5 separate regions of the Homo sapiens genome follow, and regions 2, 3, 4 and 5 are each linked to region 1. The links are contacts of gene promoters, found by promoter capture Hi-C in blood cells and fetal thymus (Javierre and others, 2016). All regions are on one chromosome and are shown on one strand. Each heading gives the region's core, a stretch centred on a gene start or on the middle of the fragment in contact. The rest is flanking DNA. Distances are from core to core; before and after follow the strand shown. Region 1 holds the start of HAS3 (hyaluronan synthase 3). Region 2 holds the start of WWP2 (WW domain containing E3 ubiquitin protein ligase 2). Region 3 has its middle 37 kb from the start of SMPD3. Region 4 has its middle 32 kb from the start of ZFP90. Region 5 overlaps ZFP90 (ZFP90 zinc finger protein).

Evidence for each region. Contacts are between HindIII fragments. The CHiCAGO score rates a contact against its expected background, and 5 or more counts as called.
Region 2: the fragment with the promoter of WWP2 here is called in contact with the fragment with the promoter of HAS3 in region 1 in 2 of 17 cell types (neutrophils and total B cells); the score reaches 7.7 in neutrophils.
Region 3: a contact is called between a fragment that was not itself captured here and the fragment with the promoter of HAS3 in region 1, in 1 of 17 cell types (erythroblasts). The highest score is 7.4, in erythroblasts.
Region 4: a fragment that was not itself captured here is called in contact with the fragment with the promoter of HAS3 in region 1 in 3 of 17 cell types (megakaryocytes, naive CD4 T cells and erythroblasts); the score reaches 7.0 in megakaryocytes.
Region 5: a contact is called between a fragment that was not itself captured here and the fragment with the promoter of HAS3 in region 1, in 3 of 17 cell types (total B cells, naive B cells and activated CD4 T cells). The highest score is 8.2, in total B cells.

What each region holds. Positions count from the first base shown.
Region 1 is chr16:69,102,082-69,108,254 of GRCh38, reverse strand. HAS3 (hyaluronan synthase 3) reads right to left here and starts at 2,602. Exons shown (of 4, transcript NM_001199280.2): 1 at 2,468-2,602. RefSeq lists a silencer at 1,976-2,255 and an enhancer at 2,389-2,937. The HindIII fragment of the contact is 7,234 bases long and covers 201-6,173 here.
Region 2 is chr16:69,758,880-69,765,052 of GRCh38, reverse strand. WWP2 (WW domain containing E3 ubiquitin protein ligase 2) reads right to left here and starts at 2,721. Exons shown (of 24, transcript NM_001270454.2): 1 at 2,662-2,721. RefSeq lists silencers at 2,245-2,294, 2,315-2,474, 2,495-2,634 and an enhancer at 2,338-2,916. The HindIII fragment of the contact is 2,162 bases long and covers 1,158-3,319 here.
Region 3 is chr16:68,482,217-68,488,389 of GRCh38, reverse strand. No RefSeq gene overlaps it. Among named protein-coding and RNA genes, the nearest start is that of SMPD3, 37 kb to the right of the region's middle. The HindIII fragment of the contact is 3,395 bases long and covers 1,745-5,139 here.
Region 4 is chr16:68,504,140-68,510,312 of GRCh38, reverse strand. No RefSeq gene overlaps it. Among named protein-coding and RNA genes, the nearest start is that of ZFP90, 32 kb to the left of the region's middle. RefSeq lists an enhancer at 1,788-2,288. The HindIII fragment of the contact is 8,227 bases long and covers 1-6,173 here.
Region 5 is chr16:68,546,522-68,552,694 of GRCh38, reverse strand. The region is part of intron 2 of ZFP90 (ZFP90 zinc finger protein); the gene reads right to left. Among named protein-coding and RNA genes, the nearest start is that of ZFP90, 10 kb to the right of the region's middle. The HindIII fragment of the contact is 165 bases long and covers 2,734-2,898 here.

The sequences.
Region 1 (6,173 bases), core at 1,353-3,852:
CTACCCTAGTGGTGAGGGTGACTGTGGTTTCCTCCAGAGCAGGTGGGGAGGGGGATGTGAGGGAGGGGAAAGAAAAGGTGGCAAGGATGGCTGCCGGCCTTCCCATTCTGACCCACACTATCTCCTCTCTGCCACCTGCCTGATCTAGAGAACCCCATGTTCACTGAGGTCTACAGACAATGATGCCTCGCTTCCAAGCTTGCTCCAACTCTTAGGTCTCAGGAAACGGAGCCCCCAAAACAAACACACTTTCCTGTCGGGACGCCTCTCACGTAGAAGGGACGAAGAACACGCAGTCACTGCCTAAATCGACCTGAGACTCCGGCACTAGCAGCCTTCCAGCAGCGTTGGCCCGAAAAGAGCTGCTGGCAGCCTAGCCTCTCCGGGAAGCGCGGCCTCCGGGCGCTCTGCCCCACCGTCCCGGGGAGCCCGCCGTGTGCTTCCTTCACAGGACTCCCAGCCCTCCCTGTTGCCACCCTACTGCTCGCGCCTGCGGCCCAGGAGTCCCCAGGCCTGCATCCGCAGCCTAGGAGCGCCCCCATTCCCCTCCGGAGCTTACATGCTGAAGGGGCGCGGCGGGACCCCCCTGCCTGCCTGCGCTCTGGGTAGGGGAAGGGGGCGCCAAGGCCAGCCCAGCAACCTGGGCGCTGGCGCCCCGCCTCGGTGCAGTGCCGGAGGCGGCGCCCACCAGGTCAAAGCAGCCGCGAACGCACTCGCCACGCTTCTCATCCCCGCTCGAGCCTCGCCTCTTGGCAAAGGCGGCGCCGGCCACACCCACGTGCCGCTTTCCCACGACCCAACCGGGAAGGAACGGAAAACCCAAGGGATCCCAGTCGGACCAGGCCCTGCTCTTCCTGGTACCCCAGCTACCTTGGCAAAGTGTGCCTGTAGACAAAGGCGCATCCCCGGTGTAGCCGGCCCTCTCCTTCCCTGGGCGGGACCCCTCCCCCGCAGGAATTAGAGGCATTACCCAGGTTACTACCCCCACCCCCAAATAGAGGCCCCCAAAATGTCCCTCAGCCAGATACCCCACGTGCAATCAGGCGCTGGTGCAGGCTGTGGTCGAGGTTCTCCTGCCCAGACCTGGGGCGGGGGGCTGTGTCACCCCAAGCCGGCAGAGGCTGTGGGGTGATCCTACAGCCTGGACCGCCGCCTCCTCATGCCCTTCGCTCATCCACGGGAGCCCAGCCCAGGCAAACTAACGCGCACTCGGCTTTCAAGGGCACAAGGTTGGGGGCGCTCTCAAGTCCGGCTCCCAGGACTACGGAAGGAGAACCCCCAGTCAAGGACGCACGCTTCTCCATCAAGCCTCCGAAACTTTGAGGGGCTGCTGGTGTGCAGCGTCTCTCCCGCTGACAGGTGCGCCCCGCGGCAGGGCCACACGCAGCGGCATGGAAACTTGTGCGCCCAACGGGGCTCCTCCTCTTGTGCCCGGCCGCCCTCCGGGCCCCTCCAGGCCGGCCAGGGGAGGGGAGCCCACTCCCCCGGACACGTGCTGCCGCGGCCCGGCTAACCCGCAGGAACGTGGGCGCCTGGTACCTTGGTGCCCGGACAGGTGCAAACCCCCGGGAGGTCGTAGAAGGTGCGGGGGAGGGGTACCCCAGCCAGCCTGGAGCCCCGCACCGGCGTCCGCCTCCTAATTCATTCACAAAACAGGAGCCGCCGGGGAGGAGGGAGGCGAGGCTGGAAGAGGAGAGGATGCAGGAAGAAAGGGAGGAGGGGTCAGTGGGGAGGGGGCTGCAGGAACGGCCGCCGGGAAGCCCGGGGCTGCCGCCGCCCCCAACCCGCCTCCCCGCGCCGGACGCGGCGCCCGCAGGGCTGGGAGCTGGCCGGGTGCGGGGGGCTCGGCGAGAGGCACCCCTGCCACCCGGCGCGCCCCGGCCTCGGCGCAGCCCCGCGCGGCCCTCCCCTCCTGGGTGCCGGCCGGCCCGCGCTCACCGTGCCGCCGGCTGCCGCGCTCCGGAGCTCAGCAGGCCCGCGGCGGCTCCATGCCCCTCCTCCCGCTCCGCTCCGCGCCGCCGCGCGCTCCGACTGCCGCCTGCCCAGCCGAGCCGCCCTTAAGTACCCGGCGCGTGCCCGCCAGGAGAGGCGCCTCCCCCGGCCCTGGGGCCGGGAAAGTTGACCAGAGTGGGAGGGCCCCCGCGGGCGCACCCCCGACCCCGCGCGGTCCCAGGGAGCGCCACAAGCCAGCGCTCGGCGGGGACGCCTAGTCCCGGGTGGACGCGGCTCCGGCTCGCAAGACTCGCAGCCCCTGCGCCCTCTCCGAAGCTGGGTCCCCCGAGTGGGGCCGAAGGCCACGCGGCTCTGCAATCGCCCTGGGACCAGCTGCCAAGGCAAGACGGTCATTGGGCTCAACCTAGAACCTGAAGCGTCGTTAACTTTCCAGATACCACGCAGGGACTTCCAAAATTGTTACTCTCCCTCCCCGCCCCCACGCCCCGCTCTCTAACCCGCAAAACCTACTCACCCTGCAAGGAAGGCGAGCTGAGAGCACTCTTCCCCGACTTCTGCACGCGAAGGGGCAGTTCGCTGTCTAGGGGGCTCCCGAAAGCCAAGGCAGCAAAACCTTCCTGCTGGCAGGAAAGAGGCGCTGAAGAGAATTGTCAAATGTAAAAAGGCTGGTCAAAGAAGGTGTTAACAATTGTGACAGCTTAGCTTTGAATTCCGCAGTGGGGCGCTGATGACTTTAAGGCGGTTTGCAAAAGCTGCAAACGGTTTTGTAGGAACCTTGGAGGTTCCGGTGTCTTAAAGCCAAAACAATTCCTCCTCTTCTTTTTCACACCTTTATTTCCGACATCCATGACCTCCTAAATTCCCAACTGACCTTATCGACAGTAGTTTTCAGGTCCCTAAAAGATAGTGCTAGACTCGAGTAAAGTGAGATGAAGTGAGTTGGGGTGCACTGGGGTGGGGTGAGATCGAGGAGGGGGGAGAGTTGTTAGCAGAGACAAGAAGTTTAGAACCAGCTGAAGGCGATGAGTTTTTACATCTCAGGAAAACTTGAAGAGAAATTATAATTAATAACTAGTTTTTAAAAAATGAGTGGCCGGGCGCCGTGGCTCAAGCCTGTAATCTCAGCACTTTCGGCGTTACGGGCACCATGCCCGTAATCCCAGCTACTCGGGAGGCTGAGGCAGGAGAATCGCTTGAACCCCGCAGGTGGAGGTTGCAGTGAGCTGAAATCGCACCACTGCACTCCAGCTTGGGCAGCAGAGCGAGACTCCGTCTCCAAAAAAAAAAAAAAAAAAAAAAAAAAAAAAAACCAAAAAACAGAGTTTACCTGTTTTCCAAATACACCTGATATAATTTCTATCACTTCTTCCCAAGCTGCAACAAATTTATAGGCACCTGAGCTGCAGTCTATAAACTTCTCCTCTCGCAAGTTTTAGGGGCTCAGGGACTTGCCTGCCCACCATTGCTCAGTCTGGGCCACAGACCTCACACCTCAGTCCCCGCAGGCAAGCAAAGACCCCAGGCACACCTACTCCACACAATCCCATCTTACATTATTGGCCAGGCACAGTGGCTCACACCTGTAGTCCCAGCACTTTGGGAGGCTGAAGATGGAGGATCGCTTGAGGCCAGGAGTTCAAGACCAGCCTGGGCAACAAAGCGAGACTTCCCCCGTCTCTACAAAAATTAAAATTAAAAAATTAGCCAGGGCCGGGTGCAGGCTCACGCCTGTAATCCCAACACTCTGGGAGGCCGAGGTGGGCGGATCACGAGGTCAGAAGTTAGAGACCAGCCTGGCTAATATGGTGAAACCCTATCTCTACTAAAAAATACAAAAATTAGCCAGGCATGGTGGCACGTGCCTGTAGTCCCAGCCACTGGGAAGGTTGAGGCAGAAGAATCGCTTAAACCCAGGAGACAGAGGTTGCAGTGGGCCAAGATTATGCCACTGTACTCCAGCCTGGGCGACAGAGTGAGACTCCATCTCAAAAAATAAAAATAAAAAAAAAAAGAAAAAGAAAAGAAAAGAAAAAAAAAAAAAACATTAGCCAGGCATGGTGGAGTGTGCCTGTAGTCCCAGCTACTAGGGAGGCTGAGGCAGGAGAATTGCTTGAGCCCAGGAGGTCAAGGCAACAGTGAGCTATGATCGAACCACTACACTCCAGCCTGGGTAACAGAACAAGACGCTGTCTCAAAAACAAATTCCTGGACTCCAGCAGCCCTTCCGCCTCAGCCTCCCTAGGAGCTAGTCCTATAGGCATGCTATCCAGCCCAGCTGCCAATGTGTTTTGAACTTCAGATGGCCTGAGGGGCCCTACCAGAGCCATTCCTACTTACACAAAGATGGAGAAGAAGCCTTAGGTTGGTGGAGGGGAGGGCTCTAGAGTCTGCCAGTAAGCCCCAGTGTCTTCATCCCACAGATGGGATTGCTAGGCGGACTGATAGGAAGTTTGAAGAGATTGGCTGAGGGTAAGCGCTCAGCAAGTGTTAGTAAACCAGACAGCAGCATCCTTTGCCCATGCCACGGGTTCTACATGGCCATCCCTCTAGAGCACTCAGTGACAGCAAGTTCAAGGATCAGTGTTTGAATAAAAGAAAACTGCCTGGCCGGGTGTGGTGGCTCACACCTGTAATCCCAGCACTTTGGGAGGCTGAGGCGGGTGGATCACCTGAGGTCGGGAGTTTGAGACCAGCCTGGCCAACATGGTGAAACCCTGTCTCTACTAAAAATACAAAAAATTATCCAGGTGTGGTGGCAGGCGCCTGTAATCCCAGCTACCCAGGAGGCTGAGGCAGGAGAATCACTTGAACCCAGGAAGCAGAGGTTGCAGTGAGCCGAGATCGTGCCACTGCATTCCAGCCTAGGCAACAAGAGGGCAACTCCATCTCAAAAGAAAGAAAGAAAGAAAAATGTCTTGTCTCTCTTGCATTATGAACCCTGGAGCCCTGGGCTACCTCCTGCACACCCAGAGGCATCACAGACCCCTGGAGTTGCTGCAGATGAGGATATCTCTGATCCTTCCTCCTTCCCAGATTTGCAATCTGCAACATCAGAGAAAATAAGCAGGGGCTTGGCAAGGGCAAAAATGAGTGCATCAGCCTGGTGGAGAGCAAACGCTCCGTTTAGAGGCTCATCTCCCTGTGGAGGGAGGGCCTCATGTGGCCAGGTGCTCTGTTGTCAAGAGAAGCCAGAAATCCAGATTTTGTATGTGAAATCTCCTAATTTTTTTAAGCATTGGTAATTCAAATGTTGAAGGAAACACACACACACACACACACACACACACACACACACACATGCACACTCCACAGGCCAGACATAATGTGTCTGAGTCATATCCAGCCAACTGGCTGCTTGTAAGTGACCTGTTTAGAAGCCCAAGGAATGGAGAAGCCAGTTTGGAAGGATCCCTTCCGTCCTCACTCAGCAGCAACATGACTTCTCTGGGTGCAAGTTTGTCTCCCTGGGGCTGGGCCAGGACCATCTCATGCCTAGTTAGTTTCTTAGACTCCAACTGTGTCCCAAGGCTTATTGCCCTTCTCACGCCGCCAGCTCCACGGAGTTTTCCAGGTGGTGGGGCTGGTTCAGCACAACCTCACGAGTCCATGAAAACCTCCTTAACCAACAGTGGGTCCAGATAGAACCTCATGAGGACAACAAACACCCTGCCTGTACCAATTAATTGGCTTTGCCCCCTAAATGGCCTGCCCTAGGGAGCACTCTCTTTTTTTCTGATCTGCAGGGCCAGGGACCTGGTGTTATCAGGCAGATAAGAGAGTCTTTACCTTTATGGCAGTCTATGCCAGGGAGGATTTGCCTGTAATTAGCATCCAGTTTGTGGTGTCCTATTTGCATTCATCCCTTCACGGGGAGGTGGGGAGGGGTTTCTTTAAGGGGCTGCTACAATCAAGCTCGAGTTTATCTCTGCTTACCACTGGGGATTTAGAAATAGGGCTAATTCCACACCCAATCACTTAAAAACATGAATTCAGATGTTGCTGAATTGGCTTTTCCACAGGTTCCAGAGGATAAATAAGCCTTCCTATTTGGCTCAGTAGTAGAAGATTCACGCTGCACTTACAACACTCATTTAACAAACGCTGAAGCCCTGCTCTGAGTAGAGAACACTGCTTTGGCACCTGGAGATCTCGGGCTGGTCCCTGCCATCTAGAACGTTACCCATTTTGAAGACAAATGTGCTTGAGAGTACAAGTATAGG
Region 2 (6,173 bases), core at 1,472-3,971, 660 kb before region 1:
TTTGTATTTTTTGTAGAGACAGGGTTTCACCATGTTGCCCAGGCTGGTCCCAAATTCCTGGGCTCAAGCAATCTATCCACCTTGACCTCCCAAAGTGCTGGAATTATAGGCATGAGCCACCATGTCTGACCAACTATTTATAATTACGTTGTATTTAACCCAATAAATCCAAAATGTTATCATACATGTTTATACATTATATGATCGTTTACTATAACATAAAAAGTATCAATGAGACATTTTACTTTTCTTCATGCTAAGTCTTCAAAATCCAGAATGTATTTTATGCTCACAGCATAGCTCCAGTGCTCAGCAGCCCCATGTGGCTAGTGTACACCATACTGGACTCTACAACAATGCCTGGCAAAGACAGAGTGGGTACTTATAAATATTCACTGAATGAAAGAATGTTTTCCCAGGAAGAGGAAGCTATGGTAGAGTACAGCGTTTTCTAAACTTCATTTACTCACATTCTACATTCACAACTTTTTCTGTGTGATCTTTTTCCTTAAAATGTTACACTTTTTATTCCTGAAAAATTATGTAAAAATAAAACTTTCAGTTGGGCATGGTGACTTACACCTGTAATTGCAACACTTTGAGAGGCCGAGGTGGGAGGATCGCTTGAGCCCCGGAGTTTGAAAACAGCCCGGGCAACATAGCAAAACCCCTGTCTCTACAAAAATTAGCCAGGCGAGGTGGCACCCACCTGTAGTCCCAGCTGTTTGGGAGGCAGACATGGGAGGATCACCCGAGCCCAGGCAGGTCAAGGTTACAGTGAGCCGTGATTGTGCCACTGCACTCCAGCCTGGGCAACAGAGTAAGATCCTGTCTCAAAATAAAATAAAAATAAAATTTTCTATTGTGTCAATAAATGAAAAAGAATGGATCTAAGGATTAAGGGTCTGGGCTTGAGTCCCTACTCATTTACTAGCTCTGAAATCTAAAGTAAGGACTTCATTAAGCCTCAGTCTCTTCATGTGATATAGGGACAATACTGACCATCCCAATTTCAAAGGGAAGGTTAAGTGAGATGTTGGTATACGCTCTTTGTAAATGGGAAAGTAATCATGAAGTGAAAGAGACTGAGAAGCCAATCCAAGCCTTTCTCTCGAGCCTGTTTTCATATGGACCAATGACACAGATAATCACAAGCTTCTCTGACAAGAAAAAGAGTAGAAGACTTGGGTTCAAATCCTTTGTCACCACTTACGCCGGTGTGACTTTTAGAAATGCATTTATTCACCAAATATTTATCAAGTGCTCACAACATGCCAGGCACTAGGCTAGCAGCCAAATAAAATATGAAACCTGCCCTTGAAGGATTTGCAATCTAGCAGGAAGAGGCCAGCAAACAAGAAAGAGCAATAAATTGTTTTAAAAAATCAAGTCGTCTCTCGTAAGTCTGTTTGTTCCCTGTGAAATGAGAATACATCTTCCCAACCTCACTCATAGGCGCTGCTGCAAAAACTAATTTTTAAATGTTTGTCAAATAACTCCAAAAACTTGAACTCATAATACATTAGGAAAGTACTTTTTCCTACTTGTAACCCAAAACGATGCTGGCTGCTGTGAATGTCCAGTTTGAACATTCGTTCCAGTTACACTGCACTCATGAAACTCCTTTTGCTTCTGCAAATTTTAGTAAACATGAGAAACAGGAAGATGAACAGGCTTTAACACAAGTATTCAATCTCAAAATCATGATCCAGGTCACAGTTCTAAGGAACATAACACAGACCTCTCAGGCACCCTACCTAGTTACAGTTCGTCAAGATAAGCAGTCACAAGATAAGCTAAGGGAAACTGAATAATTTAAACGGAAGAAAGAGAAAAGTCATAAAGCAGTCTAGGTAGACACTTCTCTGTCCAAGATTTCAGCAGTCACTATGTTGCTGAGGTAACGCTGGGCTAGGTCAACAGTGTAAGCTAAAAGCCATTTTACAGGCAAAGTGCCCACACTTATTTTTTTAATTTATTTTCTTTTTTTGTTTTTTAAAGCCTCGATGATGGCCCGTTCAGGGAAAATCTCAAAGAAAAATGAGCTGAAGGGCTAGGCTCCCAAGAAGTGGAAACCCTACCCACGCAGGACTAAGTGGGCGCGAGGGAAGCAAGACGATCAAGATTCTGTGATCCCTCCTGAAGTTTAAAAACTGAATGGGACCGTCATCAAAGTCTCGGGTAACAATCATTTCCAAACAGGAAGGAAGGGAGAGACTCTCAGAGGGGGTCCAGGCAGCATCTTTTTCCCTCTGGCTCCACGCCATAAACCCATTTTCAGGCACCCCCTTCCAGCTCAGTTCCAAGTCGCCCCTTCCCCTGGTCCCGATCCCTCCACAAAGATCGCTCCTCTCCATGCCTGGGAACCTAAGCTCCTCTCCCCTTCCGGGAGGACTCGCTCCAGCTGCACCCTTGGCGGCCGGGGCACCCATTTCGGAGCAACCCCCGCGCGGGCCGCGGCGCGCCCACCCCACTCGGGCGGGAGCCGGGACACCCCTCCTCGGAGGCCGGAACCGCCGCGCCAGGCCCCTCCCACAGGAAGCCGCCGCCCCCCGACGCCCGGGCCGCGCCGCCCCCGGCCCACCCCGCGCCGCCCGCCGCCCCCGGCCCGCCCCGTGCAGGCAGCCAGCCCACCGCGCCCCCCGCGCCAGCGCTCGCTACCTGCCGTGGCCACAGAAGCGGCGCCGAACTCCTCTCCTACTTCCGCCTTCCACCGCCCGCACTCGGGCCGGGTCACGTGACCGCGCGCGGTCACCTGACCCGGAAGAGGCTGGCCAGGCTCGCAGGTGCGGGCCACCTAGGCCTGGCCTGGGCACCTCTGGCCTCGAGGAGGCCTTTTTATCGTCTCTGTAGTTGAAAGTGGAAGGGTTTCTGCTCACCGGATGGTCCCAGGCAATCAAATAAATTGAGGGCTCACTGAATGCCACCTACTCTGCCCATCAACCTTATAGAGGCAGGGACAGGTACTAGCCCCATTTTACAGGTGAAACGAGACCTTCAGACTGTTAAGTCAGCAAATACTTAATTGAGCTCCTTTAGTAGGGTTGCCAGATAAAGTACAGGACACCCACTTAAATTTGAATTTCAGATAAACAACAGTGTAATATGTATGTCCCAAATACAGAATGGGACATATTTATACTAAAAAAAGTATTTTTTGATTATCTGAAGATCAAATTGAATTGAGTATCTGTATTTCTATTTCCTGGCAACCTTATGCCTATTATGTGCCAGGCACTGTTCTAAGATCCAGGACCACAAACATCTCAGCCTTTGTGGGGCATCTGTCCTTGTGACATGAAGCAAAAGTACAAAAGCTTAAAAACTCCTGCTTGGCTCCATAAAAAGCCCCTCCACACTAATCCAATCGCATTCCCTTAATCTACAACTACAGGGCACAGAGAACTTAATGAATTATAATCCAGGTAGGTAGGTAGGTAGGTAGGTGGATAGATAGATGATATTTTTTTTTTTTTTTTTGAGATGGAGCCTCGCTCTGTCGCCCAGGCTGGAGTGCAGTGGTGCAGTCTCAGCTGACTGCAACCTCCGTCTCGCCGGTTCATGCAATTCTCCTGCCTCAGCCTCCCGAGTAGCTGGGATTACAGGCGTGCACCACCACGCCTGGCTAATTTTTGCATTTTTAGTAGAGACAGGGTTCCTCCATGTTGACCAGTCTGGTCTCGAACACCTGACTTCAAATGATCCGCCCACCTTGGCCTCCCAAAGTGCTGGGATTACAGGCATGAACCACCGCACCTGGCAGAGAAATATTTTTTTTAAGAGATGGGTCTGGATAGGTTGCTTTGGCTGGGCTCGAACTCCCAGCTTCAAGCAGTCCTCTTGCTTCAGCCTCCCAAGTAGCTGAGACTACAGGCGAATGCCACTGTGCCTGCCCAATAACTTTATTTATTTATTTATTTATTTATTTATTTGCTTGCTTGAGACAGAGTTTCACTCTTGTAGCCCAGGCAGGAGTGCAGTGGCTCAATCTTGGCTCACTGCAACCTCTGCCTCCCAGGTTCAAGCAATTCTCCTTCCTCAGCCTCCTGAGTAGCTGGGACTACAGGCACCCACCACCATGCCTGGCTAATTTTTGTATTTTTAATAGAGATGGGGTTTCACCATGTTGGCCAGGCTGGTCTCAAACTCCTAACCTCAGATGATCCACCTGCCTTGGCCTCCCAAAGTGCTCAGATTATAGGCGTGAGCCAATGCGCCCGGCCTCCAAGAACATTTTAAATAGACATTCTTGACTGATGTTCTGGACAAGTTGAATGAAGGCTCAGTTTAATCACCATTGATTAAAATTAATACTAATGACGTAATTAGCCTCAAAGACTTGTACTAATCTGTTATTTTTGGGTCTTCGAATTGGGATGGATTCTATCATGCATACAAATTAAATTGGCTGGTGGGGCGTGGAGGCTCACGCCTGTAATCCCAGCACTTTGGGAGGCAGAGGCAGGTGGATTACCTGAGGTCGGGAGTTCGAAACCCACTTGGCCAACCTGGTGAAACCCCATCTCTACTAAAACTACAAAAAAAAAAAAAAAAAAGATTCGCCGGGCATGGTCCGGGTGCGGGTAATCCCAGGTACTCCAGAACCTGAGGCAGGAGAATTGCTTGAACCCGGGAGGCGGAGGTGGCAGTGAGCCATGATAACGCCTCTGCACTCCAGCCTGGGCGACAGAGTGAGACTCTGTATCTAAATAAATAAATAGGTTGAACACTTAGTCTCTACTTTTTGTAGTACCACTCCAAATCCAAGAGATTAACTTTCAAGGAGATACAGTCCTGTCTTTGTACATTAAACCCTATATTAGTCTCATTTATAAAACTACTATAACTAAAACTTCTCCAGTTCCATTGATGGCAGTTTTACTAATTCTGTTCTAGATAAATTAGAGACTATTTCCTTGACTTACTAGCATTTGTTGGTTTCGGTTTGTTTTCTTCTTTCATATTTCATTTTTTATCTTTTGTTGCTTTTTTTTAACAACCCTGCAGAAAAGATTTAGTGGCATCTGAGTAAGTGTTCACCAAAGGGGAGAAGGGACAAGCAAAGAGCACACACTGCACATTAAAAGAATAAAATCTGACAGGGTGCGGTGGCTGGCACCTGTAATCCCAGTACTTTGGGAGGCCAAGGCGGGCAGATCAGACTGTCAGGGGCTCGAGATCAGACTGGGCAACATGGTGAAAACCCATCTCTACAAAAAATACAAATATTAGCTGGGCATGGTGGCACACACCCGTAGTCCCAGCTAATCAGGAGCCTGAGGCTTGAGAATCGCTTGAACCTGGGAGGCGGAGGTTGCAGTGAGCCAAGATTGCACACTGGACTCCAGCCTGGATGACAGGGTGAGACTCTGTCTCAAAAAAAAAAAATTGATATGATAAACTAGAAAATGAGAAATAGCCTCCAGCCATACTCTGTTACGGCAGGTAGCACAGGCACGTTCTAGATAATGAAGAGACTGAGTGGTGAGAAAGGTTGAGCCAGGTGCAATGGCTCACGCCTGTAATTCTAGCACTTTGGGAGGCCAAGGCAGGTGGATCACCGTACATCAGGAGTTCGAGACCATCTGGCCAATATGGTGAAACCCCATCTGTACTAAAAATACAAAAATTAGCCAGGCGTGGTGGCGGGCACCCATAATCTCAGCTACACAGGAGGCTGAGGCAGGAGAATTGTTGAACCTGGGAGGCAGAGGTGGCAGTGAGCTGAGATCGCACCACTGTGCTCCAGCCTGGGCGACGAGAGCAAAACTCAGTCCCCTTCCCGCCACCCCAAAAAAAGAGAAAGACTGAATTTGGGTAATTGCTGAAAGGCAATATTCAGTAGCACTGAAGGATTTTTGGGGTAGGACAGATAAATGACAATTGAGGAATCCAGCTGGCGTGAAGACTTCATGAAGAAAGTTTGCATGAAGACCCAAGTCGACATTCAGCAAAATTCACCGGATCTTATAATCATAAAATTTCAGATTTGCAAGGAAACGTAGAAGTCACTAAATACACCTTCTGTTCAATTCAGCAAGGAATTATTTGCTACCAAATTATGTGTGTTGCTTAGGGAGGTGGGGTGAGACTATTAAGACAAATTAGACAGACTCTGGCCCCACGTTGCTCAAAATGAAGTGAAGGCACATAAGCAGCAGTCAGTATAACAG
Region 3 (6,173 bases), core at 2,193-4,692, 620 kb after region 1:
CGCCTACTTTTGTGAAGTTTTGTAGAGATGGGGTCTCGTTTTGTTGCCCAGGCTGGTCTAGAACTCCTGACCTGATCATCCCCACTCAGCCTCCCAAAGTGCTGACATTACACACATGAGACACTGTTCAGGGGTCCTGAGCAGGTCCCTGGCCTGATAACTGTGCAAGGGAGACTCTTTCCCTACCCAGCCCCATGGCCTTGTCGTTCCCGTTCAGCTCCAGCCTTAGATGAGCTGGTCTTTCTTGGGGGAGCTGGGTCATACAGGCGGGTGAGAACTCCTACTCTGCCTAGATCAATCAGGGAACAGTGCAGAGGACAAGTATAGGAAGCCCAGGGGGAATCAGTCTTTGGGGATCAAATCTAGGAAATAATGCCCCAAAATAATGCCCCGCAAGCTGCTATGTTGGTAGCTAGAGGCACATGTGTACCAAGGGCCAAAAGTCTTTGCACATAGCAGCGTATTTGCGGGGAGGAGCAGCCAAGAGCCAGAGGCACTGTCCCAGGGGAATAGGCCTGGGCTGGAGGTAGATGTGCTGTCGATTGATGGTCAAATGATTTCCTGATGCCACAGGCAGGCAATCATTTATGCAACACTTCTTTCAAAACCCAGGTGACACCCACGGGGGCTCTTTGCCTTGTTCATCCTTGAGCAGAGCCAGCCGTGAGCTGGTTGTTCTCAGATCTCTTCCCAGCTGGGTTAGTAACTTGTTTCCCACCAAAGGGCTCCTCAAATTTCAGCCTCTTCTAGAAGGTACCTCTTGGCACCTTTTTGGGGGATGGGCCCCCTAATGTCACATTGCCTTAAAATTTCTCAAGGTGGCACCCCAAAGTGAAGTCCTAGAAACTCACTTTGAAGCCCACAGATTTTAGCTTAGGAAAGTTGCTAAGGCTCTCGGCATCCTCCATTGCAAAGGATCTAAAATAAAGTCTGTTTTCTTTTTGCATTTCAGTGTGTTTAAGGTAGCTGCTGCATGCAGAGCCCTGTACTAGATGCCTTGTGGAGGGCAGATGAATACCGTACCGGAGGGAGGCTTGCTCAGAGGCTCATTGACTGCCACAGCCTGCAGAGCCAAGCCCAGCAAGGGTCCCTGGGGACATGGAGAGTGGGTGGAGTGAGTGTAAGGAGTGGAGGTCTCAGGACTTCTCTCAAAGAGCTCACAGCCCCATAGAGGCACGAAGAGGCAGACACAATGCAGAGTGCTTTATGCACTGCTGGAAGAATGTTCCAGAACAGGTGTACAGGAAGAAGGTGAGAATAGCACCTGTTTTATCTGATTCTCATTCATAGCTGACTCTTCAGCAGAATTCAGTGAGCTGGTCTTCCTGTTGGGAGTGCCAAGGGTCAGGACAGGCTTTGTGGGGAGGCGCCATTTGAACAGTCTCTTGAATAATAAACAAAGCTTTGCCTGGCTGACAAAGGGAGGAGGGGCAGTCCGGGGCAAAGAAACAACATGAATGAATCTCAGAAAACATCTTATGATGTAAGATAAGAAGTGCCTTAAAAGAAATACCAACTTTGCTATGGTAATTCAAAGAATTCCAGAGAAATTCCCAGATTTAAAAAAGATGCAGTGACGTTTGCCTCTTGATACCTGAATGTGTGCCTCTGAGTCTGGCACTGGCCTAATTCTCCTCCCTCTGCCTCTGTAGGGAGGAGACAGCTCATGCTAAAAGCCCTTAGAAATATTTTCCTCCGAAGACACACTGATTTCCCACTGGGTAATTAGGATGTAGTTGAAGCTTCCCAGAATGGTTGCTGTCTCTGAAGGATATAACTGCAGCAGGCCAGGGATTGGGACTTCTTAATTGATATATTTAATCCACATTTGAATCTCATTTTTCATCTGGCAAGGGCATGTGCCTTTTTTCACCATCTGGATGAGCTTGTTTAAAAATTCATCTGTGCGGCCAAGGAGGGCAGATCACCTGAGGTCAGGAGTTCAAGACCAGCCTGGCCAACATGGTGAAACCCCATCTCTACTAAAAATACACACACACACACACACACACACACACACACACACACACAAATTAGCTGGGCGTGGTGGCGAGCACCTGCAATCCCAGCTACTTGGAGGCTGGGGCAGAAGAATCACTTGAACCCGGGAGGCAGAGGTTGCAGTGAGCCGCGATCGTGCCATTGCACTCCAGCCTGGGCAACAAGAGCAAAACTCTGTCTCAAAAAAAAAAATTCATCTATGCATGTATACAGGTAAAATGGCCAAAGTGCTGCATTTGATTGGAAAATGGCTTCATTCTATAATATATTCTCTAATGATTTAGGATCAGAGGACTTTTCATTCTTCCAGACCTGGGCTGCTCTGTGGCCAATACAGTGTTTTCCAACCTGCTCCTCGTCCCAACCTGATTCTGAAACCTAGAAGGACTTCTCTGGACTGGGAACTTCCGATGTACACTGTTAGAGTGGACATGCCCAGCCTGCCTGGCCAGACCTCACCTTCCAGGGATGTCATGTAAGGGCCATGGGGACAGAAATGACTGCAGTAAGCTCAGGGAAGGACAGGAGGCTCCCTAACCAATACCAAATGAGGCTGAGGGGACAGGAGGCTGCAGTGCCAGCTGACCCTGAGTGTTGGGAACCTTTGCTGGGGAGAGAATGGCATCCACATTCTCTCATTAAAACCCTCTGATGGGTCAGGTGTGGTGGCTTATGCCTGTAATCCCAACACTCTGGGAGGCCGAGGCGGGCGGATCACTTGAGGTTAGGAGTTCGAGACCAGCCTGGCCAACATGGTGGAACCCCGTCCCTACTAAAATACAAAAATTAGCTGGGCGTGGTGGCCTGCACCTGTAATCCCAGCTACTCAGGAGGCTGAGGCAGGAGGAGAATCACTTGAACCGGGGAGGCAGAGGTTGCAGTAAGCCGAGATCGTGCCACTGCACCTCAGCCTGGGCAACAGAGCGAGACTCCATCTCAAAAACAAACAACCAAACAAACAAAACCCTCTGGTGTCAGGGAGGGCTATGGTGACCCTGGCCAGGTGGTGGGTGGCCAGGTGGGGGACTGTAATGGAGGCGATGGAGAGGTTAGAACTGACTCTGGGAAAAGCCTGCACTGCTCCCAGGAGACCCTTATTCTAGCTCCCCACAGTGCAGAGGAGCACCCTAGCTTTCTGGTCTGGGAAGCTGTTCCCTCCAGGATGGACACATACCACTGGCTTCTAGATCCAAGCAGGAGGGTTTTCCCTAGAGGCCTGGCTCACAAGCCAGGCTACCCCAAGCCACTTGCAGTTAAGCCACCCTCACAAGCCAAATGGCGGCACTCCCAGGGATGCTGCGGTGCAGAGGCCATGGGTCTAGGCTCCCCCAGGGGCCCTTCCTGCTCCCCGGCACTGGTACTGTGATCATATGCCTCCCCTGCCATTGGCATCTGGCCCAGCTTGGTTGAGCTACAGGACTCCCATCTCCAGGAGCAAACATTTAGCTGGTACCTCAGAAGTTGAAAAAGGATGAAGAACTCTGGGCATTGGCACTCGAACCTCAGCTGCTGCTGTAACCCAGACCTTAGGCCGGATTGGATGACTAGGTTTCTGTTTTATCCCAAGGACCCAGCCCCACCAGGCAGTAAGAGGGAAGAGAACTCATGTTCATTGAGTGCCCTATGTGCTGAGCACTGTGCTAGCCCCTTTACCTTCATTTCCTCATTTAATCCTCCCAACCATGCCATGAGGTAGGCAAGGCTGAGGTCCAGAGAGGGGAAGTGACCTATTTGAGGTCACACAGCAAGATCTGCCAAGCTCTGTTTTACAGGATATAATTGTTGAAAACAACCAAAAATGCTGGATAAAACATGAAAAACACCTTGTTAAAAGCAATGAAGAGCTGGCAAGAGAAAAAGGAATAAGGTCAGAATCTAAGGAGAGGTAAGAACCTAGACAAGTAGGAAGCACTGAAGTCATTTTGGCTATGTGGGTGTTTGCTGATATGCAAGTGAGAACCTCAGGTTTTTGTTGTTGTTGTTGTTGTTTGATATGGAGTCTTGCTCTGTTGCTCAGGCTGGAGTGCAGTGGCACGATCTCAGTTCACTGCAACCTCGACCTCCCAGGTTCAAACAATTCTCATGCCTCAGCCTCCTGAGTAGCTGGGATTACAGGCACATGCCACCATGCCCGGCTTTGTATTTTTAGTAGAGACAGGGTTTCACCATATTGCTCAGGCTGGTCTCGAACTCCTGGCCTCAAGTGATCCACCCACCTCGGCCTCCCAAAATGCCAGGATTACAGTCGTGAGCCACCGCGCCCAGCCAAGAACCTCAGTATTAATGATCTTGTGGGCCAGTGTGATAAATGTCAAAACTCAGGGCCTGTCCCCAGTGGGGAATCTATCAGGAGGCTCTCCTAGTTTAAGCTGGCACCCTAACAGGTCTCCCTACCTTGGGAATGCAAGAGAAGAGGGGAGGAGTTGTCACTGAGATGTAACCACAAGCTGGCCATCACTTAGATTGGCGGCCCAAGTTCACGTCATTTGCGTGATTCATAAAACCTCTGCTCATGAATTTAAAGTACCCTTGGGGCCGGGTGTGGTGGTTCATGCCTGTAATCCCAACACTTTGGGAGGCCAAGGTGGGCAGATCATTTGAGGCCAGAAGTTCAAGACCAGCCCGGCCAACATGGTGAAACTCCGTCTTTACCAAAAATATAAAAATTAGTCGGGCGTGATGGCATGTGTCTGTAATCCCAGCTACTCAGGAGGCTGAGGTAGAAGAATAGTTTGAACCCAGGAGGCAGAGGCTGCAGTGAGCTGAGATTGTGCCACTGCACTGCAGCCTGGGCAACAGAGCAAGACCCTGTCTCAAAAAAAAAACATAAAATAAAATAAAATAAAAAAATAAAGTACCCCTGGACTGCTAATGCCCCTGTCACCTGGCAGAGGGACCCATCAATCCTCTCTGGAGAGAGGCATATTCATCCTAGGCCTCAAGAAGTACCCACCAATAAGTTTTCAAATATACTCAGTGGTATATAAGCCCCAAATAAGCCAGCTACACAAGGAAACACTGAGAATCAGCAGAAACAACAGACAGCAGACATAGACCTACAACAACTTCAGATCATGGAATTATCCAGCATCAATTAAAAAACATACTTAACATGTGTAACAAAATAAAAGACAAGCTTGAAAATACCTGTAGGGAGTAGGAAACTATAAAGAGTGACCTAACAGATTTGAGAAGGAAGCAAATTTTCAGCAGACTTGAGAAAGGGGTATATTTTTCAGAGGTGAAAAATATATCATAAATGAAATTTTAAAATGCAGTGGAAGAGAGTTTGTGAGCTGGCAGATGGTTTAGAAAAAAGCAGTGGAGGCCAGGTGTGGTGGCTCATGCCTGTAATCCCAGCACTTTGGGAGCACAAGGTAGGCAGACCACTTGAGGTCAGGAGTTTGAGACCAGCCTGGCCAACGTGGTAAAACTCTGTCTCCACTAAAAATACAAAAACTAGCTGGGTGTGGTGGCGGGCACCTGTAATCCTAGCTACTTGGGAGGCTGAGGCAGGAGAATGACTTGAACCTGGGAGGTGGAGGTTGCAGTGAGCTGAGACCGCACCGCTGCATTCCAGCCTGGGAGACAGAGACTTTGTCTCAAAAAAAAAAAAAAAAAAAAATTAGCCAGGCGTGGTGGTGTGGGCTTGTAATCCCAGCTACTAGGGAGGCTGAGGCATGAGAATCACTTGAACCTGGGAGGCAGAGGTTGCAGTGAACCAAGATCACGCCACTGCACTCCAGCCTGGGCAACAGAGCAAGACTCTGTCTCAAAAAGAAAAAAGCAATGGAAAACAGCACAGAGAGACCAAAAGACAAAATATATGGAAGAAAAGTTAAGAGACGTGGAAGAGATCAGCCTATGATTAGTGGGAGTTTTAGGAGGAAAGGAGAGGGAGAATGGAGAGAGGCAATATGTGAAGAGATATTGGCTGAGAATTTTTCCAGAATTGATAAGACACACCATTCATAGATATTAAGAATCCTAAGGAATTCCTAGCAGGATTTTTAAAAAAGAAGAAAAGAAAGAAATACATATTTAAATGTGTATCGTAAATTGCAGAATACACACACATCACTCACATATGAGAGAGAGAGAGAGAGAAAACCAGAGGGAAAATGTCAGTATACCTTAGACTAACAGCTGATTTGTCAACCTCCACATAGAAA
Region 4 (6,173 bases), core at 1,862-4,361, 600 kb after region 1:
GGCCCGTGGGTGTCCGGGCCGGAGAACTCCAGATCCGAGTGCGTCCTCTTGGTCCACGAGCCTCCTCCCTCTCCCTTACCCAAGGACAGTGAGCTGGAGCGCGGGCGGCTGGACGCGTAGCGCAGCCTTCGCAACGGGTCTTTTTTCGTCCCACTTTTTATGGGACCTTGGGCTTCCAAACCGACGTTGGATGGTTTGTCAGCGGATACTTTCACCGCCCACAGCAAACTTGCAGAGCCAAGCGGGCTGTTCTCCGGAGGCTCTCGGAGGACGCCCCCTGCCAGCTGCCGGCATCTGGGGGAGAGGGACAGCATTTGGGGTGGGAAATGAAGTTCTGGTTTTGCACATTTACTGGCCTACACTGGCGTCTCACTGTGACCTAGAAACTGGAGATGGAGGCTAGGGGTGGGAGTTGAGGAGCCAGAGGCTGTGGGGCGGGGGTTCCCACTGGGATCGGTTGGTGGGGTCACCAAGCAACAGCTCCCCATCAGGCAGAGGCCTTAGACGGCAGCATCATGGGCGACGGATGGAGACCATGGGATTCAGGGGCCTGAGAGGGAGGCAATGGGATGGCCACAGAATGCAGCCAGAAATGAAGGGACAAAGAAATCCCTGGGGCTGCAGACCAGTGGCCTCTGTGGTGGCCAAGGGTGAGGGAGACACAGGGCGCTAGGTATGGCAGAGGTGCCACCCTAAAGGCCAAGACTGTACAGGGCTGGACCTGGCAGCACCCGGAGAGGGACCAAGGAAGTTTGTGATCTGGACGATGACATAGGTCGTTCTTACCCATCACAGTTACCCAAGATGAAGGGAGGTCCCTGAGCTGAGAAAAGGGCTGGGCGCCTGCCTGTAATCCCAGTGCTTTGGGGGGCCGAGGTGGGAGGCCAGGAGTTCAAGCCTGCAGTGAGCCATGATCATGCCACTGTACTCCAGCCTGAGTCACAGAGTGAGACTCTGTCTCTAAAAAAAAAAAAAAGAAGAAGAAGAAGAAGAAAAAAAAAACAGACTGGGCGTGGTGGCTCCAGCCTGTAATCCCAACCCTTTGGGAGGCCAAGGCTGGCAGATGGCTTGAGCCCAGGAGTTCAAAACCAGCCTGGGCAACATAGTGAGACTCTGTCTCTACAAAAAATGCAAAAATGAGCCGGGCGCAGTGGTGTGCACCTGTGGGCCCAGCTACTTGAGAAGCTGAGGCGGGAGGATGTTTTGAGCCTGGGAGGCTGAGGTTGCAGTGAGCCAAGATCGCCCATTGCACTCCAGCCTGGGAAAAACTGGGGAGAGAAAAAGTGAGCCAAGCCCCAGAGCAAGGGCTGGGAAGGGAGAACAGCAAGCAGGAGCCTCAAAAACTGGGGCGGTGGGGACGGGGGGTGTGAAGGGGGTGGGATTGTTCAAAGGCACAGGAGCAGTGGTTTCCAGGGATACTGGGGGGTCTGGAGAAGGGACAGCAACTCCCAGGAGATGTGGGGAAGCTGTGGCCAGCAGGGGACAGCTGCAAAGCAGGAGATGGAAGGCTGAGGATGTGTCTGTAACAGATGGCCCCTGCTTTCCAGGGCGTGGAGGACAGCACTTGGGGAGTGGGTGAGAAGACAGGAGACTTCAGTGGGTGGGAGGACAAGATGGGGTGACCAAGAGTGTGAGGGTGGAAGTCTGGACAGGACCCTGGGCTCATCACATGGGCCTCCGGGCAGAACCAGGGCAGCAGAGCCTCCACTCACAGCCTGGACACCAGCCTCTCCTTGGAAGAACCCATCTCCTATTAAGAACCCTGTGGCACAGTGGATCATGCCTGTAATCCCAGCACTTTGGGAGGCCGAGGTGGGCGGATCACCTGAGGTCAGGAGTTGGAGACCAGCCTGGCTAACACGGCAAAACCCCATCTCTACTAAAAATGCAAAAATTAGCCGGGCATTCTGGGCGCCTGTAATCCCAGCTACACGGGAGGCTGAGGCTGGAGAATCACTTGAACCTGGAACCTGGGAGGTGGAGGTTGCAGTGAGCCAAGATCGTGCCATTGCACTCTAGCCTGGTCGACAAGAGCGAAACTCCATCTCAAAAACAAAAAACAAAAAACAAAACCAACAACCCTGCACTATGACGGGTCCTTAAGGAGTGAGTCATGGGCTCTCACTGCACACCAAGGAGCCCCACATGTGAAAATGCTTCTAGAAACATTGAGTGCTTGTAAAGACCTACTGCTGGGCATATTGGCCCTATTAGAGGGAACATTTTATCACACGAAGGCACAGGTAGGTTGTTTCATGGTAATTGCTTTCCTAAACCATAGAGAAAAACGCATCACAAACCCAGCACAGTTAACTAAAGTGGTCACATTCCTCTTCTTTGATTTAAAGCTATTTAGAAATATTAGCAACTGACTTTGCCTCCAGGTTGTCGGTGCTTTTTTTTCTCGACTGTAACTTTTTCTTTTGAATCCCATGAAATATCCTGAGTACACCAGGAGGGAGGAATGAAAATATGTTTGCATTTCCAGCTCTGCAGCCAACTGCTACTCAGACAATACCCTCAATGTGTAACCTGGGAGTTTAATATTCTCAAATATTTATAATTACGCAGAAACAGCCCGAAGAAATGTTCAGCTTCTTCACAGCTGGATAATTATCTACATTCAATGTTCACAACCTCAGAGCTGCTTCTCAGAGTTTGGGGTGCCTCTCTGCCACTTGGGCATGCAGAGTACATGGGTTCTGTGGGCAGATTCCTAACGGGGCATAGAAGTGGCATGGGGAGATCCCATGCCAGCGTGCTCTCTCTCTCTCTCTCAAGAGTCCTGCTCTGTGGTACAGGCTGGAGTGCAGTGGTACAATCATTGCTCACGGTAGCCTCGAACTCCTGGGCTCAAGCAGTCCTCCCACCTCAGCCTCCCGAGTAGCTGGGACCACAGACGCATGCCACCGCACTTGGTTATTATTTTTTAAAATTTCAATAGGTTTTGGGGGAACAGGTAGTGTTTGGTTACAAGGATATGTTCTTTAGCGGTGATTTCTGAGATTTTGATGCACCCATCACCCAAGCAGTCTACACTGTACCCAATGTGTAGTCTTTTATCCCTCACGCCTCTCCCATTTTTTTTTCGGACTAATTAAAAAAAAATTTTTTTTTTCGTAGAGACGAGATCTTACTTTGTTGCCTAGGCTGGTCTTGAACTCCTGGCCTCAAGCAATCCTCCCACCTCAGCCTCCCAAAGTGCTGGGATTACAGGGGGAAGAAAGGCTCAATCATTCCCAGCAAATTCTGTAATGGACCCATGAATAAAGTCCTACATTGAAGAGTCCCTGCGGAAGTGTCTCATGGAGTCCCAGATGCTCCCCACAAAAGGATGCTGTGGTCAAAGCAGCGCTGCCTCTGTCTGCCTTTGGAGAGGCACCATGCATTCTGCTATTCATACATTTTCTCCTTGCCTGGCATCTCTCCTGCTGCTCCCTCTGTTCCACGCATATTTCCAGAAGAATATCAAGAAAACTATTTTTCCTGCATAATTACCCGCCTCCTCTCCACCCACCTCCACACATCTTTTCGGCTTTGACGTGGCAGCTGCTCTGATTTCTTTAAGTGGACTGCATTCTGCATTTACCAGGCAGGTGGAATTCTATGAAGGGAGCCTCCAGCCGAGGCTGGGAGTGAGGGCCCTGGGCATGATCATCCCTCCCTGCACCAGACCTGCGGCTCCCCTGTCTGCATTGAGGTCCTCCTTCCCACAGTCCCTGGGGCACAAAGCTATTGGTTCCTGAATGAGTGTCACCAACCAACTGCCTGGTCCTCCTTCTCCCAAGCCCAGGCTGCCTCAGTCCTGACTCTGTGACCTGAAAGGAAATTCCTCTTTAGTGAGATCAGCTAGCATCTTCTCAGTTGTAGCTTTCAGAACAGTAGACCCAAACTAGCACAAACTAAAGAGAATGGGCTGTCCCATGGAACCAAACAGTCTTGAAGCCCCAGCTGAGGTTCAGGCGGGGCACTGTCGCTGCTGCTCTGGAATTCTTTCCACCTGCCTGCCTTGGGCTATGGGCTTCATCTCCAGGCCAGCCATGCCCAACACAGCAAAGGGTTCAAAGATGTGCCAAACCCTGGTTCACGCTCTGACTGCCTGGAAGAGCCAGCAGTTCCTTCTCCAGGTGGCTTCTACAAATTATCAAGAAAGCATCTTCCCTTGCTGGGTGTGGTGGCTTACACCTATAATCCCAGCATTTTGAGAGGCTGAGGCCGGTGTATCACTTAAGGTCAGGAGTTTGAGACCAGCCTGACCAACATGGCAAAACCCCATCTCTACTAAACATACACAAATTAGCTGGACTTGGTGGCAGGCACCTATAATCCCAGCTGCTTGGGAGGCTGAGGCAGGAGAATTGCTTGGACCTGGGAGGCAGAGGTTGCAGTGAGCCGAGATCATGCCAGTGCACTCCAGCCTGGGCAACAGAGTAAGACTCTGTTTCTAAATAAATAAATAAGAAAGCATCTTCCCAGGTGCCCATCAAAAGTCCTGTGGGTCTTATTGGTCCCAATTGGGTCTGGTGCCCATCCCTTAGCCAACCACTGTGGCCAGGTGGCTGGGACATGCTGATGAATGTCAGTCTATCAAGGCCTGTCCCTGAAGCTGGGAGAGGGTGAGAAGTCCCTGAGCTGTATGGGGGAAGAAAGGACACCCAAATCAAATGTGGAATACTGGACCAACGGAAGTGGGAATGGACAGCAGAAGATCTTGGAAGTGAATGTTCACTTCTCTGTGTAACTTGCAATTGAGTCCCCTCACCTTCTGCCTCTGAGAAGCAAAGACCAACCTCTTTCTTTGTGCACCTCAAGAGGCAGTTTTCTAAGCAGGGTCCTTGCCTGTCTCGTGGACTTGCTGTATCCCCAGCACCAAGGACACCGACTGGCCAATGAGGTGCTCCACCAGGATGAGCGGATGGAAGGAACCCAAGAGAGGAAGAAATAGGCATGCTTGCCTGCAGGTGGCTTTGGGGCTCTGGATAGATAGAGACAGCCCTGGGATCCATGGAACCGTCTGGATGAAGGGCCCAGGACCCAGAGTGACACATGTCTTCTTCCACAGGCCTCACTCTAAGGTGGCCGGGAAGAGAGCTGTTACCAACAGAAGTGTGGATGCCTGTCACTTAAGTGTTTCACTGCACGGGTCTGCGGGAATCATTCAGTAAGATTCTAGAAGCATTCATGGGACATCTATTCATGCCAGGCCCGGGCATGGGCACTGCAGAGCCCACAACAAGTGGACAAAGCACAGCTAGTCTCTGCCCTGCAAGGGCACACCTGGCAAAATCAGGTCCCCACAAAGCCAGGACAAAAACCATGGGAACCCTGTCATCAGAGGTGGGGAGAGCCACCCCACGGCCCCCTCGGCACCTCTGCCAGCCTTTCTCTCAGCAGCCAGAATGAGCCGCCAGGTGCCCTCATATAGCTGTGAGGTGTGCCAGACACTATTCTTTTATACACCTATGATTTGTGACAAGTCGACTCCAACTTGCATAATAGGACACTAAAAGGCTTAGAGGGAATTTTTCCCAAATTGGAGACTCAGAGATGCCCAGATAATCTCTCCTTGGTTGCCGCTAAGTCTTATATCAGTCATGGTGTTCCGTTTCTTTGGTATGTCTGTGATAATATGTAAATTATGAGCTTCCCATTACACCAAGGCTTGGAGGGAAGAGCCTTTCCTGAATTTTCCTTTTGAGGAAGTTGGTGACTTGGAGACAATGTTCTTCTCCCTTGAGGACTCTTCTTAGTAAGTGGAGTAAATTTTTTCTTCACTAAAAAAATCTATTTCTCCAAATTTTTGAAAATTGGTTTAATATTCTGCTTTAACCTCTGTGCCCAATTCCAGAGACACCAACTCCCATCAGGACCAGGCTGTGTTTAGCACCCCATGCAAGCGAACGCCCCAGCAGTGTCTGGGACATTCTGGGGGCCTCACCTGAGTGTCAGACACATCTGCCATTTCTCCAGCCACGAAGCAGCCTCCGCTGCCTGTGACCCTGAGGTGTTGCTCAGGTCAGCATGGTCAGCCTCTCTAGCCACCACCCCTGAGGCCCCTTTCTGGCTTCCAGAAAGGATTCTCTCTGCTTGGGGCCGAGAGATTAGTCCTGACAGGGCTTGTTGGCAGATGTCAGGGCTTTTCAAAATCAGAGCCCCAGAAATGGCTTGCCTTT
Region 5 (6,173 bases), core at 1,567-4,066, 560 kb after region 1:
GTCCCCTGGGGACCTCCACAGCCCCCACTCTGGCTTCTCCTCCCCTCAGACACTAACATTTGGCCATGCAGAAGAGTTACAGCTCCTTGAAACCAGAACGTTCTTTCACCTCGGCAAGCGTTACTTCAAGCGCTCAGCCTTTCTTCCTCGGCTTGGCTAAGGCTCACTCTTCACTCTTCACCAAGACTTGGTCAAGTTCTCTCCTCTGGGGCCCCATTCGTACCCCAGGTCTGGGCTGTGTCCCCCTCCCATCCCAGCAGCTCTCCTCCCTGGGCCTCTCTCTAGCACAGCTCATAAGACACTACTACATTCAGGTGTCTGTTACCCAGTGGTCACTCCTACCAAACTGTGCTCCTAGAAGGTCAAGACCTTGGCTCAGGCACCTTCAAATTTCCAGAGGCGAGAACCAGTTTGGTACATAACAGACAATCAAAAGTTTGCCGGAGTAAATAGGTAAAATGCACTCTTGGTGGAAGTTAGTCACTCTGAGTCAGATCAACTTCAGGGCATCTCATGCTACAGGTCACACCTTGAACCCTAATAAATGATCCAGTAACACCTTGCAGATAGCTGCTCATCCTTCTTCCAGATGTAACAGGACTTCATCATCAACCCCTTTTAAAAACTAACAAAGCAGCCAGACGCAGTGGCTCATGCCTGTAATCCCAGCACTTTGGGAGGCCAAGGCGGGTGGATCACGAGATCAGGAGATCGAGACCATCCTGGCTAACACGGTGAAACTCCCTCTCTAATAAAAATTTAAAAAAAATTAACCGGGCACGGTGGCGAGCGCCTGTAGTCCCAGATACTGAGGAGGCTGAGGCAGGAGAATGGTGTGAACCTGGGAGGCGGAGCTTGCAGTGAGCCGAGATCACGCCACTGCACTCCAGCCTGGGTGACAGAGCCAGACTCTGCCTAAATAAAAAAACAAAAACAAAAACCAAAAAGCAACGAACAAAGTTATTAAGAAGTATCACATGTTCCAGACAGGTGCAGTGGCTCATGCCTGTAATGCTACCACTTTGGGAGGCCAAGGCGGGTGGATCACCTGAGATCAGGAGTTTGAGACCAACCTGGCAAAACCCTGTCTCTACTAAAAATACAATTAGCTGGACGTGGTGGCGGGCACCTGTAATCCCAGCTACTTGGGAGGCTGAGGCAGGGAGAATTGCTTGAACCCAGGAGACGAAGTTTGCAGTAAGCCAAGACTGTGCTACTGCACTCCAGCCTGGGCAACAGAGCAAGATTCCGTCTCCAAAAAAAAAAAAAAAAAAAAAAAGGATCACATGTTCCCTTTCCTTATGCTGACATACAAGGATCTTGGCCAAATGGTTGAGCCCAAAGCAAGGAACTAGGAACAGCATATACTAAGTTGAGAAGACTCAATTTCATGGGCTCCTAAAAAGCTCCATAATGAATAAATGCATAATATCCTTGAGTAGATCTCACACCTCCTGGAGATCCAATTACCTCATCAATAACATGAGTTCCCTGAACTACAGAAATAAAGAGTTTTATGAGCAGATGGGGTGAAAGGGCACTTCCAGAAAGGACATGTACAAATACAGTTTGCCCAATCAGAAAACATCACATTTACGGCAATACAGTGTGGTATCTCCACTTAAGCACTAAGTGGCCTCTGATACCAGATTGATCATAGTTTAACAAGCCGATAGTTGACCGTGTAACTAACAATGGTGTACAGAGAGAAGAACATCACTGTCAACCTTTGCACACACACAGATTCCTACTGCATCACCATCTGCAGTATTGAAGACTGGAAACCTGGACCTCCTCCTTGACTCTTCATTTTTCCTTTATGCCTTGCAGTCACCAAAAGCCTCAGAAATGTCTCCTGAATTCAGTCCCTTGCCTTCATCCTTCAAATCCAGCTGAAATCCTCCCTTGCTAATGACAGCATTAATCCAGGGAATGGCAATCTACAGCCACACAGTCTAATATGGCAGCCACTGGCCACATGTGGCTATTCATTATGTTTTTAAATTAAGGATTTAGATGTTCACCCAATTACAAACTGGTTTTAAATGCTAGGAGGAAAAGAAAAAGAGCAGACAAACTTAAAAGTCACACTTGCAATGTAGCTAGTCCAAATGGGCATGTGTGATTAAGCAAAATACACACTGGGCCAGGCGCAGTGGCTCACACCTATAATCCCAGCACTTTGGGAGGCTGAGGTGAGTGGATCACCTGAGGTCAGGAGTTTGAGACCAGCCTGGCCAACATGGAGAAACCTAGTCTCTACAAAAATACAAAAATTACCTAGGTGTGGTGGCACATGCCTGTAATCCCAGGAGGCTGAGGCAGGAGAATGGCTTGAACCCAGGAGGCGGAGGTTACAGTGAGCCAAGATTGCGCCACTACACTCCAGCCTGGGCGACAGAGTGAGACTCTGTTTCAAATAAATAAAATAAAATAAAATACACACCGAATTTCAAAGATTTACTATCAAGGAAAGAATGTAAAATGCCTCATTAGTAATTTTAAAACATTTATCACATGTAGAGATGATAATATTCTGGATATATTGTTTTAAATAATATTTATTACTAAAATTAATTTCACCTGTTTCTTTTTATATTGTAGCCACTAGAAAACTTAAAATTACACATGGAATGTGTATTTCTTTGGCACACCACCGTTCTACATTGTTCTAGGTCTCCACCTCAGGCCATCTTTCTCTCAAATGCTGCCTCCTGTCATATACCCAAAGCTTCTGCCACATGGACTCTTTGGCCCAGTAACAACATTTTCTTTTGTGTTTCTTTGCCTTTATACATCCTATTCTGACCATAATGTACTTTCTTCCCTCAGTTCCACAGGAAAAATTCCTAGTCATCCTTGTAGAACCAGTTCACTGTTCCATTCCCTCCTGAAGCTTCCCCACATCCTCCGTGCTCCCCATCCCCCTTCAGCATTTGGTCCCCATCTCCATTTCAGAACCGTAGCCATCTAGTTACATTTTTCTCCCTCAAGACTTTTTTTTTTTTTTTTTTTTGAGATGGAGTCTTGCTCAGTCGCCCAGGCTGGAGTGCAGTGGCACGATCTCGGCTCACTGCAAGCTCCGCTTCCCAGGTTCACGCCATTCTCCTGCCTCAGCCTCCCGAGTAGCTAGGAGTACAGGCACCCGCCACCACGCCCAGCTAATTTTTTTTGTATTTTTAGTAGAGACGGGGTTTCACCATGTTAGCCAGGATGGTCTTGATCTCCTGACCTCGTGATCCACCTGCCTCAGCCTCCCATAGTGCTGGGATTACAGGCATGAGCCACCGCGCCCAGCCAAAAATTTCTTAAACTCCTTTTCATTTCAGTATCTCTGACACTGCAAGTGGAGAGTGTCCAGAATCACCTGGGCAGCTTTTCTAAATTGTCCATGCATGGAGGGTCTTGCCCAGCATCTTTTAAAAGCTCCTCAGGTGGTTCATTATCAAAGAGCAACAGCTCAGATTTCTTGAACACTCGCTGCTAGGCAAACACTAAACTCAGTCATTTACGTGCACTCTCACCACATTTCCTCACTGAAGCCTTGTCACCACCCCAGAGGAAGCAGGCACCACTTCCTGACTGGTTCTGAAGCATGACCCTGGTTAAGAACCACTGCCTGGCATAGAGCAAGCATTCCAAACACGTCTGCTGAGTGAATGGATACAGAATCTGGGTAATTCTCAATGCAGGAAAATGAGGAGTTGTTTCGAGGATTAAAAAAAAACACATGGGTTAGTGAATTAAATTCTTGGATTATAAAAAACAGAGGCAAACAGAAAAACGATGGCATTAACAGCCAAATCTAAGGCTGGTTCCTCTTAAGCACCAGCCAAATAGAAAAACCTCTGATAAATCGAGTAAGAAGAAATTTTTAAAAGATGAACTTAAAGATAGGAGGATAAGGCTGGGCACAGTGGCTCATGCCTGTAATCCCAGCACTTTGGGAGGCCGAGGCGGGCGAATCACCTGAGGTCGGGAGTTCGAGACCAGCCTGACCAACATGGAGAAACCCCATCTCTACTAAAAATACAAAATTAGCCGGGTGTGGAGGTGCATGCCTGTAATCCCAGCTACTCAGGAGGCTGAGGCAGGAGAATTGCTTGAACCTGGGAAGCGGAGGTAGCGGTGAGCCGAGATTGCGCCATTGCACTCCAGCCTGGGCAATAAGAGCGAAACTCCGTCTCAATAAAAAAAAAAAAAAAAAAAAAAAAAAAAAAGGAGGATAAACAGAACAGTGAAATATACACACTAGTGTGTTAAGAAATGCAAAAAATCTTAACAAAAAACTTTTAAATTCTAAACTACCAATGTTTACACAAAAAAGCAGAAACCTTTATAATTGAGGAGGAAATAGAGAAAATTGTTGCCAAAACATCTTGTCTATAAAAATCCTGAGTCTAAATGTTTTATAGGTAAATTCTTTCAAAAGACAGAAAAAGGTGAAAAGCAATCTGAATGTTTCTACAAATTAAGGATAAGCATGACACCAAAACCCATCCAAGAGAGTGCTTTCTCTCTGGTGGCTATTTCCCTTAGTAATACAGATATTAAAAAATGATCAACTGGGCCGGACACGGTGGCTCACACCTGTAATCCCAGCACTTTGGGAGGCTGAGGCAGGTGGATCACTTGAGGTCAGAAGTTCGAGACCAGCCTGACCGACATGGTGAAACTCCATCTCTACTAAAAAATCAAAACTAGCCAGACATGGTGGTACACGCCTGTAATCCCAGCTACTTGGAAGACTGAGGCAGGAGAATCGCTTGAACCCAGGAGGCAGAGGTTGCAGTGAGCTGAGATTGCCCTCTAGCCTGGGCAACAAGAGCAAAACTCTGTCTCAAAAAAAAAAAAAAAAGAGAGATCAACTGTATTTTGAAAAACTTATGTATTACAACCAAGTGGAATTTTATCCCAGCATTATGTATAATAGTAAAAATTTCAGAAACAACCTAAATGTTCTCTGAGAAATGGCTAAATAAATTTTGGTACATTCATACAAAGCAATATAATATAGTCATTAAAACTGATTTTAAACAACAACAAAAATAATCCTCATAAAATTTATATGAAATTTAAAATACATTGTAATTAAAAATGTTTAAGGGGAAAAATATGCATAAGGAGAAAAGAAAATTCACCAAAACAAATACAGAGGTCCTAAGGAAGAGGGATCATAAATGACTTTTTTCTATTAAAAAGTCTAGATTATTAAGCAAGTAATACCCAGAATATATAGAGAACTCCTAAAAATCCAACAAAAAACAATTCAAAAATGTGCCAGGAACTTGAATAAACATTTCTCCAAAGAAGATACACAAAGATGTTCAAGAACACTAATTATTAGAGAAATGCAAATCAAAACTACAATGAGATATCACCTCACACTGGTTAGGATGGCTACTATCAAGATAAAACAGAAAATAACAAGGGTTGGGGGGATGTGGATAAATTAGAACCCTTTGTGCACTGTTAAGAATGTAAAAAGATACAGCTGCTATGGAAACAGTATGGTGGTTCCGGAAAAAAATTACCGTATGACCCCGCAATTTCTCTCTGGGTATATAACCAAAAGAATTTAAAGTCAGGTCTCAAAGAGATATCTGTACCCCCACGTTCAATAGTTCAATGCCTCATGTTCATGTTCAGTGCCATAGCAGCATTATTCACAATAGCTAAACATGTAAACAAAGCAAGTGTCTATCAATGGATGAATGGATAAGCAAAATGGAATTGTATTTAGCCTTAGAAAGGCTTTTATTTTAAAGCACTGTATTCAGCCTTTAAAAGAAAGTTCTGATATATGCTACGACTTAGATGAATCTTGAAGACATTATAATAAGTGAAATAAGCCAGCCACAAAAAGATATACTGTGTGATTTTGGCCAGACGTGGTGGCTCACGCCTCTAATCCCAGCACTTTGGGAGGCTGAGGTGGGCAGATCACTTGAGGTCTGGAGTTCGAGACCAGCCTGGCCAACATGATGAATCCCTGGCTCTACTAAAAACACAAAAATTAGCTGGGCGTGGTGGCGCATGCCTGTAGTCCCAGTTCTCAGGAGGCTGAGACAGAACCGCCTGAACCCAGGAGGCTGAGGATGCAGTGAGCCGAGATTGCACCACTCACTCCAGCCTGGGTGACAGAGCAAGAATCCGTCTTAATAAAAAACAAA